2 separate regions of the Homo sapiens genome follow, and region 1 is linked to region 2. The links are contacts of gene promoters, found by promoter capture Hi-C in blood cells and fetal thymus (Javierre and others, 2016). All regions are on one chromosome and are shown on one strand. The core of a region is centred on a gene start or on the middle of the fragment in contact, and the rest is flanking DNA. Distances in the headings are between cores, read along the strand shown.

What was found. The method cuts DNA at HindIII sites, captures the fragments that hold promoters and counts their contacts. A CHiCAGO score of 5 or more calls a contact.
Region 1: a contact is called between a fragment that was not itself captured here and the fragment with the promoter of ALKAL1 in region 2, in 1 of 17 cell types (endothelial precursors). The highest score is 6.2, in endothelial precursors.

What each region holds. Positions count from the first base shown.
Region 1 is chr8:52,924,140-52,931,295 of GRCh38, forward strand. It overlaps LOC107986943 (a long non-coding RNA gene), which reads left to right. Exons shown (of 3, transcript XR_001745899.2): 2 at 1-31; 3 at 3,994-4,108. Among named protein-coding and RNA genes, the nearest start is that of NPBWR1, 11 kb to the right of the region's middle. The HindIII fragment of the contact is 2,578 bases long and covers 454-3,031 here.
Region 2 is chr8:52,560,237-52,567,125 of GRCh38, forward strand. It overlaps ALKAL1 (ALK and LTK ligand 1), which reads right to left and starts at 5,194. Exons shown (of 5, transcript NM_207413.4): 1 at 4,831-5,194. The coding sequence starts at 5,020. RefSeq lists an enhancer at 3,450-4,426. The HindIII fragment of the contact is 9,451 bases long and covers 1-6,369 here.

The DNA of each region.
Region 1 (7,156 bases), core at 493-2,992, 360 kb after region 2:
TACACTTCAGTTTCCTCCATGTCTCTTCATGGTATGATATCTTCTTTCTATCACTGAATAATATTCCATTGTATGAATATATCACAGTTTGTTTATCCAGACACCTACTGAAGAACATCTTGGTTGCTGCCACCTTTTGGCAATTCTGCATAAAGCTGCTATAAACATTCACATGCAGGTTCTTGTGTGGGCATAAATTTTTAAGTGATTTGTCTAAATATCTAGGAGCACATTTACTAGATGGCATTATAAGACTATATTTAGATTTGTAAGAAATGGCCACATTGTCTTCCAAAGTGGCTGTATCACATTGTATTCTCACTAGCAATGAATGAGAGTTCTTGTCCACCAACATTTGGTGTTGTCAGGGTTTTGTATTAGGTATGTGGCTGTATCTCATTATTACCTATCTTACAACTTTCTAAAGATAGAGAGCTTTGACCATTTTCCATAAGCTTATTTGCCATCTGTATATCTTCTTTGGTATTTCTTCTTCTGTATATCTACTGTGTCCATTAGAGCCTATTGAATATATGTGCTCCTGTCCCAAATTTATATGTGGAATCTCTAATCCCCAGTGTGATGATATTTGGAGGTGGGGACCTTTGGGAGGTAATTTGGTCATGAGGGTTAGGGATCAGTGCCATTGTAAGAAGAGAATGAAATAGATCTTACCACTTTCTCTCTCTGTTGTGTAAGAATAGCAAGAAGTTGGACATCTGTAAATCAGGAATAGGGTCCACACCTAGAACTCAATCATGCTGGCACCCTGATCTCAGACTTTCAGCCTCCAAAATGGTGAGAAGAAACTTTCTGTTGTTTAGGCCACCCAAACCATAGTAGTTTTGAGAGAGCCAGGTTGGAGGAGGTCCTCAGAAAAACTCCAACCGTCCTGTGCACTGGGGTGGAGCCTCAGGAGGTTCATGCCCTTTGCAGTGGGGAGGAGCCTGGCTCCTCCTCTTCCTCTTTGGAACCTGGGATTTGAGCTGCGGGTGGGAAGCACTCTAACAGGGACTCTGGCCTTGGAGAGGATCCCTGTTTCCCCCACTTTTTTCCCTTTCCACCCAATAAAACCCTGCTTTACTCATATTTCAAACCATCTGCAAGCCTAAATTTTCATGGCCGTGGGACAGACAAGGATCCCATCTTTAGCTGAACTAAGGAAAAGTTCTGCAACCATTTGTTGTAGCAGCCTGAACTAAGTCAGAGCCCTTAGCATATTAATTGTAGTTAAATTCCAAGTCTGATGGTTCCAAAATCTCTGCCATATCTGAAGCTAATTCTGATGCTTGCTTTGCCTCTTCAGACTGTATTTTGTCTTTTGGTGTCTGTTGTAATTTTTTGTTAAAATCCAAACATGATGTGTTGTGCGAAGGGAACTTTCGTTAATGAAGTTTTAAACTTAATCTGGCTAGGAGTTAGGCTCCATTTACTGCTTGTTGTAGCTATAGGTGTCAGAAGCTAAAATTTATTCTATCACCCTTGTTTTTGTCTCCTCTGTTGTTTATGGGTTTCCCTAGTGACCTCTCCTTAAATAGCATCTGTGACATGCAATTCTTTCAGTTATATTTCCCTGCTATTATACAGAAGCAGCTCCAATGACATGGTAGTAAAATGTAGAGGGAGAAGAGGCATTCTATAGTCCTTTGATTAGATCTCTGTTTTTTAGTGAACCTATGCATTTGGAGAGGTGACCCTAACAAATACTTCTTAGCTTCTCCTCTAACCGTCTTAGGTGAGTCAGTAAGGCTGGAGAGGCTGGAGTTAGGTATTTCCCTCTCCTAGCGATGAAGGTTAGAAGAGGCTGAAGTTGGGTATTTCCCTTACTCCACATGAGTTAGGCTGGTAAAGTAGCTTCCATTGAGGGCAAGCCTTTGCTAAGAAGAACAGAAGCTCTGGATGTATTTCAAAATTGTTGCCTTTCCCCTCCCCATGCAGGAAGCTGGAAGGAATTTTTATTTTATCTTCATAGTGAGAACCTGGTGGGATTCCTGGTGGTAAAAGTGATAAAAGTGTGGGGACCTCCTAAGGCTGTGCCCACAGAAGTTTTTCTCTCTCAATCTAGTCCATGCTCATTCTTCAGCAATTGGTCAATCATTCCTTCAGTGTTTCAACCAGTTGCTGGCCTTAGTTGTGCCTCCACCCCCTGTCAGCTGTGATCCTCTGTATCCACCTATCTCTCTCTCTGTAGAGTTTTGGACTGGTGGCTTGCCCTCCATCCTCAATTTTTGGGTGGATCTAAGAACAGTTGGTGATTTTCAGAGCCCAACTTTGCCATTGCTATGAGGACATGAGTGATGACTCCCAAACTTTTTACATGTCAAAGTGAACTAGATGTCTCCTTCTTGTATTTTTTCACTTTGCACATTTTATGAAACAGAACTTTAATACTTTGACCAAAAGATGTTTCTGACTTTGAATTGAGTATTTTTCCTGAGTTTTCCTATTAGCATTATTACACAAACATCATTTAATGTGATGACTTACATATGCATCCTAAAATCATAACCAGATATCACATATACAGGAAAATGTCAAAATCCACAATTGGGGTTTTAGTACTTTACTTCTGAGAGTATGAAGGAGCATCAAGACAGAGACAGTCTTTGCCAAATTTTCCCCAAAAAATAGCATAGTGGCTTTGATGGAAAGCGAAGACAGGCTTTTCAATTCTGTGTATAACATCAACCCAATGACGTGCTATGGACAAGTGATTTACTTTTATTCTGTCTCAATTTTCTCCTATAATAATAGTAGTAACAGCAAGAGCAAAGAAAAGATGTAATGAATACTTATTATATCAAGGCAGTATTCTTAACTCTTTACCTGTACTATCATTAAATCCTCAAAGTAATCTAAGAGTTGGAAAACATGAGGCATAAAAAGGTTAAGTGATTTATGCAAGGTTGCACAGCTAGTAAGTGGTGCAGACTCGCTCTAAAGCTCTCCTCATTAAACATGAGAAAACAACCCAAACTCCGTGTGATGATGGAAGTGAAGAGTATCCTAGGCAGAGGAGTAAGAATGAGTAAGCTTATTTCTACCCTCAGGCCTTTGCAAAGATAGAAATAAGTCCTAAATGTTTGAAGGACACAAAAGTCCAAATTGACTAGAGCAAAATAAATAAAGTAAAAAAAAATGGAAGAAGATGAGATTAGAGAGGGCTTGTGTCATAATAGCTAATGTTTATCAAGTTCTTTTAAGTATTCGGTGCTGTTGTATTTTATATTCGTTTTCTTTTAATTCTCAAACAACACTGAAAAGTAGTTCTAATAGTAATCATTACTGTTGCTATTAACACTATTGACAGTCAAAACACATGTGACATAATTTTTTTAAAAAACTTCAAAATAACTTATGGATAAAAAAGAAATAAGGAAAATGACAATTTTTTAAAAGATCTGACTGCCACAGTGCATATAAGACTTTCAAGATATAGGTCAATTGGTACTTTGAGGCAGATAGAAAAATAAGTAAAAAGTGACCATTGAAACAATCATTGTAAGAATTTGGAAAGGCAGCAAAGTAAAAGCCCAAGAAAGAAAGAAAAAATTATTTTAAAATTTTAATAAAAAATAAAGAATAGGATCAACAAAACAAATAGCTCAATCTTAGAGAAGTCTTTTAAAATAGTCCTTTCAAACCTCTGGCAAAATATATTAAGAAAAAGTAAAGTACAAATAAGAATATTAAATATAAAAGTGGCCAAGAGTAGAGTTAAAAATATTTTTAAAACAACAAGCTATGGTATTTGCAAAATAAAAAATACCATAAAGGGTTAAAAAGAAAAGCTAAATAACGACATACCAAATAGATAAATCTGAATAAAAGCAAGGTGAAGAAGCACAGGTAGATGATGATAATATTTATGTAAATGTTTAAAATACTCAAAGGAATATTAAATATACTTTGGATTAAAAAATGTACTGTAAGTATAAAAGCATGGATGGAAAAGACACAAAACCAACTTCAGAACTGTGGCTGTGATTTCAGGTGGAGAGCAGTATTTACACTGATTTCAAGGTATGGAGATTCTTGCAACAAATGTGTAATGCAGATCTGGACTCCAGACTCATTAGAAATAAAAGGCTCAGGTATTCATTTTGGGGTAAGATTTTGTTTCCTTCAACTAAGCTAGGTATAATTTTCCTTTTCTGCTCTGAACTGCTGGGGGACTTTTTCTGCACTGGGGTTTGTGCATATACAGGGGTCTCAGTTTCACCTTCTTGCCTCAAGTAGTTAAGTCCCATCTGCTGGCTTTCCATGTGTTATTTAAAAAATAGCTTTGTTGAGATATTGTAGTAAACATGCAACACGTTTCCCTGTGTCCCTCTAGTCCTCTCCCCGTCTCTCCTTTTCCTACTCCCCTTCCCATCCCTTTTCCCAAGAAAAAAACTGATATGATTTCCGTCACAATAGATTAGATTAGATTTTCTGCCATTTTATGTAAGTACAATCATATAGAATATACTCTATTTTTTTGGACTGGCTTCTGTTGCTTTGCATAATTACTTTGAGATTCATCCATGTTTTAGTGTGTATAAATTCTTTATTCTTTTTTGTTGTTGAGCAGTATTGCATCGCATGAATATACTGCAGTTTGTTTATCTATTAACTGGTTGATGAGCATTTGGGCTGTTTTCAGTTTTTGGCTATTAGATATAAATCTACTATGAGCATTCATGTATAAGGCTTTGTATGAACATATATCTCCTTTTCTTTACAATAAATACTTAGGAATAGAATGGCTGGATTACATGGTAGATGTATATTTAATTTTTAAAGATACTATCAGTCTTCCAAAGTGGTTGTGCCATTTCATACTCCTAAAGTGTATGAGAGTTTCAGTTCCTCTGTATTCTTGACCACACTTGGTATCATCAGTCTTTTTAATTTTAGCCATTCTAATAAGTGTTGTAGCAGTATTTCTTAAAGGTTTTAATTTGCATTTGCCTAATAATTTATAATGTCAGGCAGCTTTTCATGTGCTTATTTGCCATCCAGTTACCTTTTGTGGTAAATTGTCTGTTCACACATTTTGCCTATTTTTAAAATTCGACTGTTTGTTTGCACATTACTAAATTGTGAGAAATTTTAAAAATATTCTGCATAAAGATCCTTTATCAAATATGAACCTTACAAATATATTCACCCAATCTGTAGATTGTCTTTTTATTCTCTTTAAGCAGAAGTATTTAATTTTTGATTAAGTCCAATTTATCAATTCTTTTTTTTTTTTTCTGAGATGGAGTCTCGCTCTGTCGCCCAGGCTGGAGTGCAGTAGCACGATCTCAGCTCACTGCAAGTCTACCTCCCAGGTTCATGCCATTCTCCTGCCTCAGCCTCCCGAGTAGCTGGGACTACAGGCGCCCACCACCATGCCCGGCTAATTTTTTGTATTTTTAGTAGAGACGGGGTTTCACCGTGTTAGCCAGGATGGTCTTGATCTCCTGACCTTGTGATCCACCCGCCTCAGCCTCCCAGCGTGCTGGGATTACAGGTGTGAGCCACCGCACCCGGCCTATCAATTCGTTCTTTAACAGATTATGCTTTGGATGTTGTATCTAAGAAACCTTAGCTTAACTCAAGCTCACAAAGTTTTTGTCCTATGTTTTCTTCCAGAAGCTGTGTAATTTTAGATTTTACATTAGACATATTGTCCTTTGAGTTAATTTTTATATATAGTGCAGTATAGCTTAAAGCTCGTTTTCTTGTTTAGCGGATATCTGTCTGTTCCAGTGCCATTTGTTGAAAAGACTATTCTTTCTCCACTAAATTGTCTTTGAATGTGTTGAAAATCAGTTGTCCATGGATATGTGGGTCTTTTTCTGAAGTCTTCATTCTGTTTTATTAACTAAAATAGTCTATCTTTACACCAGAAACCACACTGTCTTGATTACTATAACTTTATAATAAGTCTTGAAATCAGGTAATGCTAGTTTTCCAAACCTGTTTTTCTTTTTTTGAAGTTGGACAGTTATTCTAGATCCTTACATTTACATATGAGTTTGTTTGCTTGTTTGTTTGTTTGAGACGGAGTCTCTCTCTGTCACCTAGGCTGGTGTGCATTGGGTGATCTCGGCTCACTGCAACCTCCACCTCCCAGATTCAAGCAATTCTCCTGCCTCTGCCTCCTGAGTACCTGGGATTACAGGCATGCGCCACCACGCCAGGCTAATTTTTGAATTTTTAGTAGAGATGGGGTTTCACCATGTTGGTCAGGCTGGTCTCGACCTCCTGACCTCATGATCTGCCCACCTCAGCGTCCCAAAGTGTTGGGATTACAGGCGTGAGCCACCGTACCCGGCCACATGCGAGTTTTAAAATCAGTTTCTCAATTTATACTCCCTTCCCCACCCCCAGAAAAACATGTTAAGATTTTTAGTGGGATTGCATTTATCTAAAGATCAACTTGGGGGAGAATTAACATCTTAACAATATTGAGTCTTTTGACTCATAAACATGGCATGTCTTTCCATTTATTTAGGTCTTTTTAAATTTCTTGAAGTAATGTGTTATAATTTTCAGCGTACAGATCTTTTACATACTTTTTTTTTTTTTTTTTTTTTGAGACGGAGTCTCGCTTTGTCGCCCAGGCTGGAGTGCAGTGACACGATCTTGGCTCACTGCAAGCTCCGCCTCCTGGGTTCATGCTATTCTCCTGCGTCAGCCTCCCAAGTAGCTGGGGCTACAGGCACCCGCCACCGCACCTGGCTAATTTTTTGTATTTTTAGTAGAGACGGGGTTTCAGCACGTTGGCCAGGATGGTCTCGATCTCCTGACCTCGTGATCCACCCGTCTCGGCCTCCCAAAGTGCTGGGATTACAGGCGTGAGCCACCGCGCCCGGCCCTTTTACATCTTTTGTAAGATTTATCCCTACATAGTCATATTGCTTGATAGTATTGTAAATGGTATTTTTAAAAATTTAAATTTAAAAACATTTAAATTTCTGATCATACTAACAACGTATAGGATGTAGAAATGTAAAAAACTTTTAAATGGATCTTATATCCTACAATCTTGATAAACCCACTTGTTTACCAACAAGTTTGTTTTTACAGATTCCATAAAATTTTCTAGAATTTTTTTATAGATTCCAAAAAATTTTCTTCATACACAATTATAGATTCTAGCTTCTAGAAGTATTTATAGACA
Region 2 (6,889 bases), core at 3,944-6,443:
ATTAATATGTAAAAGACTACACATCTTTCACGTATGATATAAATATTGTAGCTATTATTTCCTGGCAGTTTATGTTGTTAGATATATAAATGGAGTTATAAGAAATATTTAAACTCCAGACACTCTACTTACTACCCACTACTGTGACGTTTTCTACAATGGCAAATAGTCGAAGGAAATATCACCTGGCCACGTTTTTCTATCCTCCTACACAGCAACAAAGATCTTAGAAATCTGCTCTCAAATGTCATTTCCAGCAATAAAACTGAAGGCCAAAGAAAAAAATTGCCATTAAAAAGGAATTGTTTTAATCCTAGGTTTTCCTAACCAATATGTGATTGGAAAGTAGTCTCCTGGGACTGGGTCATTTCAGGCAAAGAGAACCCCACAGTGGGTGATTCTGTTGACCTCTGCACAGAATTTCCTCACTTAGCAGCTCGATAAATAGGCTCCTGCAGAAAGGCCACAATTCCTACAAGAAATACTGTGAATGGGCAGAAACTCATTCCTCTAAGTTAGCTTTGGCATCTCAGAATGAGTATTTATGATCCTGCTAGCTAGCAGCCCCATGCCCAACAGACGTCTGGTCATATATATAACCTGCCAAATCTACTTGGTGAAAAATCATATATAACCTTTTCACTTTGACCTCTCCCCATACTAACAGTTTTCAGTAAAATAAATAGCTTCAAGTAACCCTGCAAATAACATAATAAAAATATTAAAATGGAAGATGATGGCTATGTTCATCTGTTTGACTGTAGTAATCATTTCTTGTGCCTACATATAACAAAATATCATGTTGCACACTTTAAATATATACAACAAAAAATGATTTTTAAAAAAAAGTACCCATCCATACCCCCCTCCCAGGTGATATGCAAAGCAGCAAAAATTTTTTATTATTTATGTGAAATAAATTGTTACTCACCAGGTATAACTGTCTAAGTGGGCAGATATAATAGCCACAGACTTGCAATAGAGAGAATTTGGGCTGTACAAATAAAATCCCACTATTACGCAAGCCCCTGCAGTATTTAAGTATGTCTAGTTTTTTTTAACTTTCATCAGATCTTTGGGGATATTTGCAAAGTGAATTTATGGTTTAAGACGCATCTGAACGCATAAATAACCGAACTGCAAAGACAGTACAAAGGAAGGGGGCCTAGATGGATGAATAGAATTCCAGCAGGCAGAGGTAAGAGAAGTGCATTTCAGGAGAGGGAGGAATAGCGTTAAGCACAGGCAGAATGGCCTCTGTAAGGAGGGGGTACCAAGCCTGGGACTGGCACAGAGGCACTTACAGTAGCTCCTGAGAGCTGCCGAAAGGTAAGAGGAGGTGGCACAAAAGGACTTGAATATCTGCCTTTCTTTCCAAGGAAGCTAGGACCTTCCTGGAAAATCAAGAGAAACCACAGCAGATTTATGACCAGGAAGAGACCAGCCCCATGCTACTTATTAAGCACGTTGATTTGCCATTGTTCAGCATAACCTCATCAAAACCCCTTCACATTCTCTCCTTAAGCTCCATGTCAGTGAGGTTTTATATTAAAACAGCAACAGCAAGCACAACAACACAAATCTGACTCCAGAAAGCCTGTAGAAATAAGGTAAACATTTACTGAAATCTCTTGAAAAGGCAGAGGTAGCAAAAGAAACATCATATACATCAATAGTTGCTAACAGTACCCTTACACTGCTGCCTCCCACATCTCAAGCCAATTTCCTTTCTGTCAAAAACTGAACCTCCTCTCTACTCCCACCACGGCCCTATTCTCAGCCTTCTGATTCTGTTTTCCTTTCAGTGGGTGAGTGCTCTGATGTTTCTTTCCTTTGGCAGGGTTTGAGGTATGGTCCCTTGTTTGTGCCATCCTGCTGGTGGCGCAGTGACCAAAGACAAAGGGAGGAGGAAAGAGGAATGAGAGAGCAGGAGCGAAGGTTACTGGGAATTCTTATCCCAGTAGGACACACTGTCAGGGGCACTAATAGAGTTGGAGATGATCGAGAAGGTCACCGTAAAACTCTCAAGAGGGTCTGAACTAGAGTGGTGGGAAGGACACTAAAAAGGAAGACCCAGATTCGAGAGACATCGCAGGCAGGAATTATGAACTGAATTGTGCTCCTCAAGCACAATGGTCAACAATGTTGCCCATCCCAACGACCTCAGCTGTGTGTTAAATTGCTAAATGAGAGGACGGATACAGGCACGAACAAATGGGCTGTGAGAAGGAAGGAGGGCCAAGGACGGTGAATCAGGAGTGTTCCTGGGAACCTAACACAGTCCCCCACTCTCCGCAATCCTCGGGGCATGCTGTCTGGTCCCTCCTGCCTCAGGGTTTCCTGGTTACTACTCCCTCTACCTGGAAATGATCCCCCCACCTCCAGCTCACATCTGCATTTAGGGAAGTTGCCTGGCCTACAGAAAAAGGCAGACAGAGCAAGTGCAGGGGCAGCAAAGATTTCTGAACCTAGAACAGGTACGTTAGGCCTGGGTGATGGTGCTTATTACGTCACTACAGAAATATGGGGCCATCATTCCAGGCACATCTGGCAGAGATGAGAGTCCTTGGCCTCCCGGACCTGCGAGATATTTTCCTCCTGAATGAACGATAACCCCTGCCACCTGCTGAGTGCACCCCGTGAGAACATCCAGATAGGCCCTTGTCCTCTATATTCTCATGTCCCTGTTTGTTCCTGATCCATGTGCAAGTACTCCATTCACAGACTCAGATACGGATGTCATGAGCCACCCTTTTCTCCCCTTGTGAATGTAGTATAGCAATCAAAAAATTAGACAACTACAGTCACAGAAAGCAATGGCTTTAAGGGTGCCCACAGGGCACTTTCTGTCTGACTATATTGTTGTTTAAAACTTCAGATGGTTGCCGCTTTTAACTATGGCCGGGCATAGTGGCTCATGCCTGTAATTCCAGCACTTTGGGAGGCCAAGGCAGGCAGATCACTTGAGGTCAGGAGTTCGAGACCAGCCTAGCGCAACATGGTGAAATCCCATCTCTACTAAAACTACAAAAAAATAAAAATTAAAATTAGCCGGGCGTGGTGGTGCGCCTGTAATCCTAGCTACGTGGGAGGCTGAGGCAGGAAAATGGCTTGAACCCGGGAGGCGGAGGTTGCAATGAGCCGAGATCACGCCACTGCACTCCAGCCTGGGAGACAGGAGCGAAACTCCGTCTCTAAATAAATAAATAAAATATTGTTTTATCCCTTGTAACTCACTTCAGTAAGTCTTCACTGTCTGAATCAAAGAGAAAAGATCTGTTGAATGAAACAGAAGGTCTGAATGAATGTGTGCCCTCCATGTTTCTGTACTTTGAGAGCCTTTCTCCCAGTCCTTTCACATTCCAAAGTGACATTTTATTCTCTGAGATAAATATTTTAGGCTAACAATAATTTTAAGTCAAAGTGCATGATCTGTGTGCACCATTGCTGCATGGCCGTGCTGCGGACACTGACCCTGTGCCCTCCCCTCCTGAGGGCTCCCCAGTGGCCGGCTGGACTGAGAGGCTCTGCCCGGGTTGTCCACACACCAGCTGGGCAGCCCACCTCAGCCTCCCACCTTCTCCATCCCCTCCCCAGGGCAGGACACCCTGCTCACTTAGTGCAGGTGTGCACCAGCGCCTCCTTCCACACCCAGGTGTGTGGGAGAGTGCAGACACTGCTGTCTGCTCCTCTGGGTGGCCTCCGCCCTCTGCATGGTGACAGACAGGAACTCGAAGAAAGTTTGTGGAGTGAATAAGTATATATTTATATCACAACTATTGTGAAAGAAAAATCATACTAAGAAGCCCTTGTTTGCTTTCTTAGCCATAAAGCCTGAGGAGAAGGGATCAGGAGCTGTGGTCCCACGGCCAGCCGCTAGCTGCGAGGCATCCCCAGGCCACCCTAGGCCCTCTCCTCTTCCCAAGCCCGGTGGAGGCCACCAAATGTCCCCGCAGAGGGGCCCTTCTGTCCCAGCCTCGCCGGCAGCTTCACCTTGCTCTGCTCTTGCTGGGTGTGAACAGAAACGTGTGAGGAGCTTCTCGCTTCTGTCCCCACCTTCCTTTCCTGCGTGTCCTGCCCTCCTCCCTCCAGCGCTGCCCCAAGTGCCCGGCCGCCCCCTCGGACCTCCTTTTCCAGGGGCTTTTCCGTGTTCCCCGTATTCACACGACTTCTCTGCCTGTGGATGTCTCATGACCCTCTAGAGCAGCGACTTTTTCCTCCCTCATTCCTTCCACTCCCCTCGGGCATCTAAGTAGCAGGAACCTGACTGTCCAAAGTTGATTTGGGAGCAGCCGGCTGCCCTTCTAAAATGATCTAGGAAAGGTGCCAGTAACATAAGCCGCCGCCTGCTGAAACTGGCGCTTCCTCAGCCACTCGCTGCGGCCAGCGTGAAAGGGGAGGGGAAAGGGGCATTCCTGGCACGGTCAGGTGTCTACGGACAGCAATCTTAGTTAATTCTCAAAACCCCGGAAGATCCAGAAATGGGGTGCTGACAGGGACCTAACCTGTCCACCACCCCTCGGTCGGTGGGACTGAAACCCATGTCTTTGAGCTGCTTTACCAGTTTATTTCCAAAAAGTCCTCCTACACCTGGGAAGGGACATAGAAAGCTGATCCCATTGCCAGCCGGATTTCTTTACTTAACTCTCAACCGTGGTAAATCTAATTCGCTTACGACCTCTTTCCGAGAGCTGGGAATCTGCAGAGATGCTCTGTTTTCTGCTGTACTAATCTCAGGCTTCCCAAAGCGAGTGCCTCGCCCAGCTCCTAGGGGAATCCACGGAGCCCCAGGCGCAGGGCAAAGGATGGGGCGGGATGGGGACATCGTACCTGCGCTCCGGGAGCCGCTGGGAGTCCGGCCGGCCCCGGCCGCGGGGAGGAAAAGCAACGGCTTGGGCTCCTTATCCGTGACGCGCGCTCCCCTGCGCCCCCGGGGCCTCCCGTGGGCTCCGTGCGGGGACAAAGCCAGCGCCAGCAGGAAGAGTGCGGGCAAAGGGGCGCCGGGCTTAAGGGGCCGCATGTTCGCAAGCCGGGAGGAGAGAGCGGGAGACTCCGGGAGGATCCCGACGCAGGTCCGGAGGGTGCGCGGCCCAAGAGAAGGCCAGCGGGACCACAGCGCGGCTACGCGGCCGGCCGCAGTCTTCACCGCGCGCCTGCCCTTGTCTACGTCCCGGGGGTCGGCTGGAGCTGCACTGGGACTCGGTCCTCAGTGTGCCGAAGCCTAAGCGCTGCGGGGCGCGGGGCGGGAACGGGAGGCGGTGCCTGGGGCCACGGGGTCGTCCCCCAGGATGAGGGCGTGTCCCAGCGCGCGGGACCCTCGGAAGTCCGCGCTGGGCCGGGCGGGCACCAGCCTCGGACTCAGCGGGTCTCAGGGCTCCCTGCGCAACGCCTGCCTCGGATCCGGACCCCGGGCTCGCTCTCTGGTCGCCGTCCCCGGGAGGACCCAGTAGGGTAACTGCCGCGTCGCCCCGGCGGTTCTCCCTGGGCTCTGTCTCCCGCCGCCTCCACCCCCCGAGCCTCGGGGTCCGTCACGGCTTCCCCTGGCTGGCGGGGTCAGTAGAACCCGCGGCGCCTAGGTCCGGACGGAAAAAAGCAGGGCCGGGGTGCGGCCTGGATGAGCGGAGATCTCCGCGCCTTGGGCTCAAAGGTGCGGGGTGCGCTCTGCTGCCGAGCCCCTGCTCGCTCAGGAACACTGGCCACGCCGTCACGCCAGCCGCCCCTGCCCCAGGTCTGGAGGCCCGACCTGCTCTCCTAGGCGCAGCACCGCGTTCTCTTCCGCGTGGGGGAGCGGCGGGCGGAAGAGGTCTGGGGCTGGGCACCGGGGACACGCGCCCAGCTCCCCTGGCCTCCCTGGGGGGAGTGGCCGGTTTCAGTGCTTCCCCAGGTGAAATCGCCAAGGTTGACCAGTGCGCCCAAAAAAGCAGCCGGCTGGATTTTTCTTCAAATTAGGGAACTCTTATAAAGAGTTTTAGTGTTAACAACTTAAAAAATGAAATTAAGGCCAGTCGTTCTGATTAAAGTGCGCCTCTCTGATCAAACCGCGCTCTGTAAACTGTTGTTGTTTTAGTTGTTTCAGCCGCCTGCTTTATTGCTTTATGTTAAGTATATTGAAAAATGTTGAAATTGCTCGCTAATCAATTGACTACTAATTATCTCCTCATATGCAAAGTGCAAACAGGTGAAAGGAAAAAGGCAGGAATAACTAAGGGAACTGAGGCTCCATTACTCCTTAGGCGGTGCCCAACGTTACATTACTCTACAAAAAGAAATCTTGTGGGTCACAGATCCTGAATAATGACCTCAACTCCTTCAAATAGTTTATCTAGGCTTGGCATGTCCAACATGCCTAAGAAATTGGGAAGCAAAGCAAGCTTTGCAGGAGCCCTGTGAAATCGTGCCTTTGGATGAAGCTCTTTTGAGGAAGTTGTTACACAGGTGAAGACTGCTTCTTCCAATCGTTTCACTGTTAAGCACGCATAGGAATCTGGTATTTCCTAAGCAAACACAGCAGTGTAAGAGAATGGCTTCCACCAAGGGAGACCCACAAGAGTCTTCCTAGAAAAACAGGTTAAGGGTCTGAAGGCCCTACTTAGGTGGAATAAACGCTTTCTCACAGCTCTACTGAAGTGAAATAAGAAAACATTAGAAGTTCACAGACATTGACAGGCAGTTCAAAAATTAATTTTAATTGGAAAATAAAAAAATAGGGACTAGTCCGAAAAACGATGGGGAAATGCAGTATGAAATAATGCTGGAGAATAAGTGATACTGAAACCATGACAAATGGACTTTTTAATCAACCATCTATCCGGAGCAAAAGACAGCAAAACCTGGAAGCTGAATTATTTCCCTCTTCCTCTACGTTGAAAGCTAGAGGAAATAAACAAAG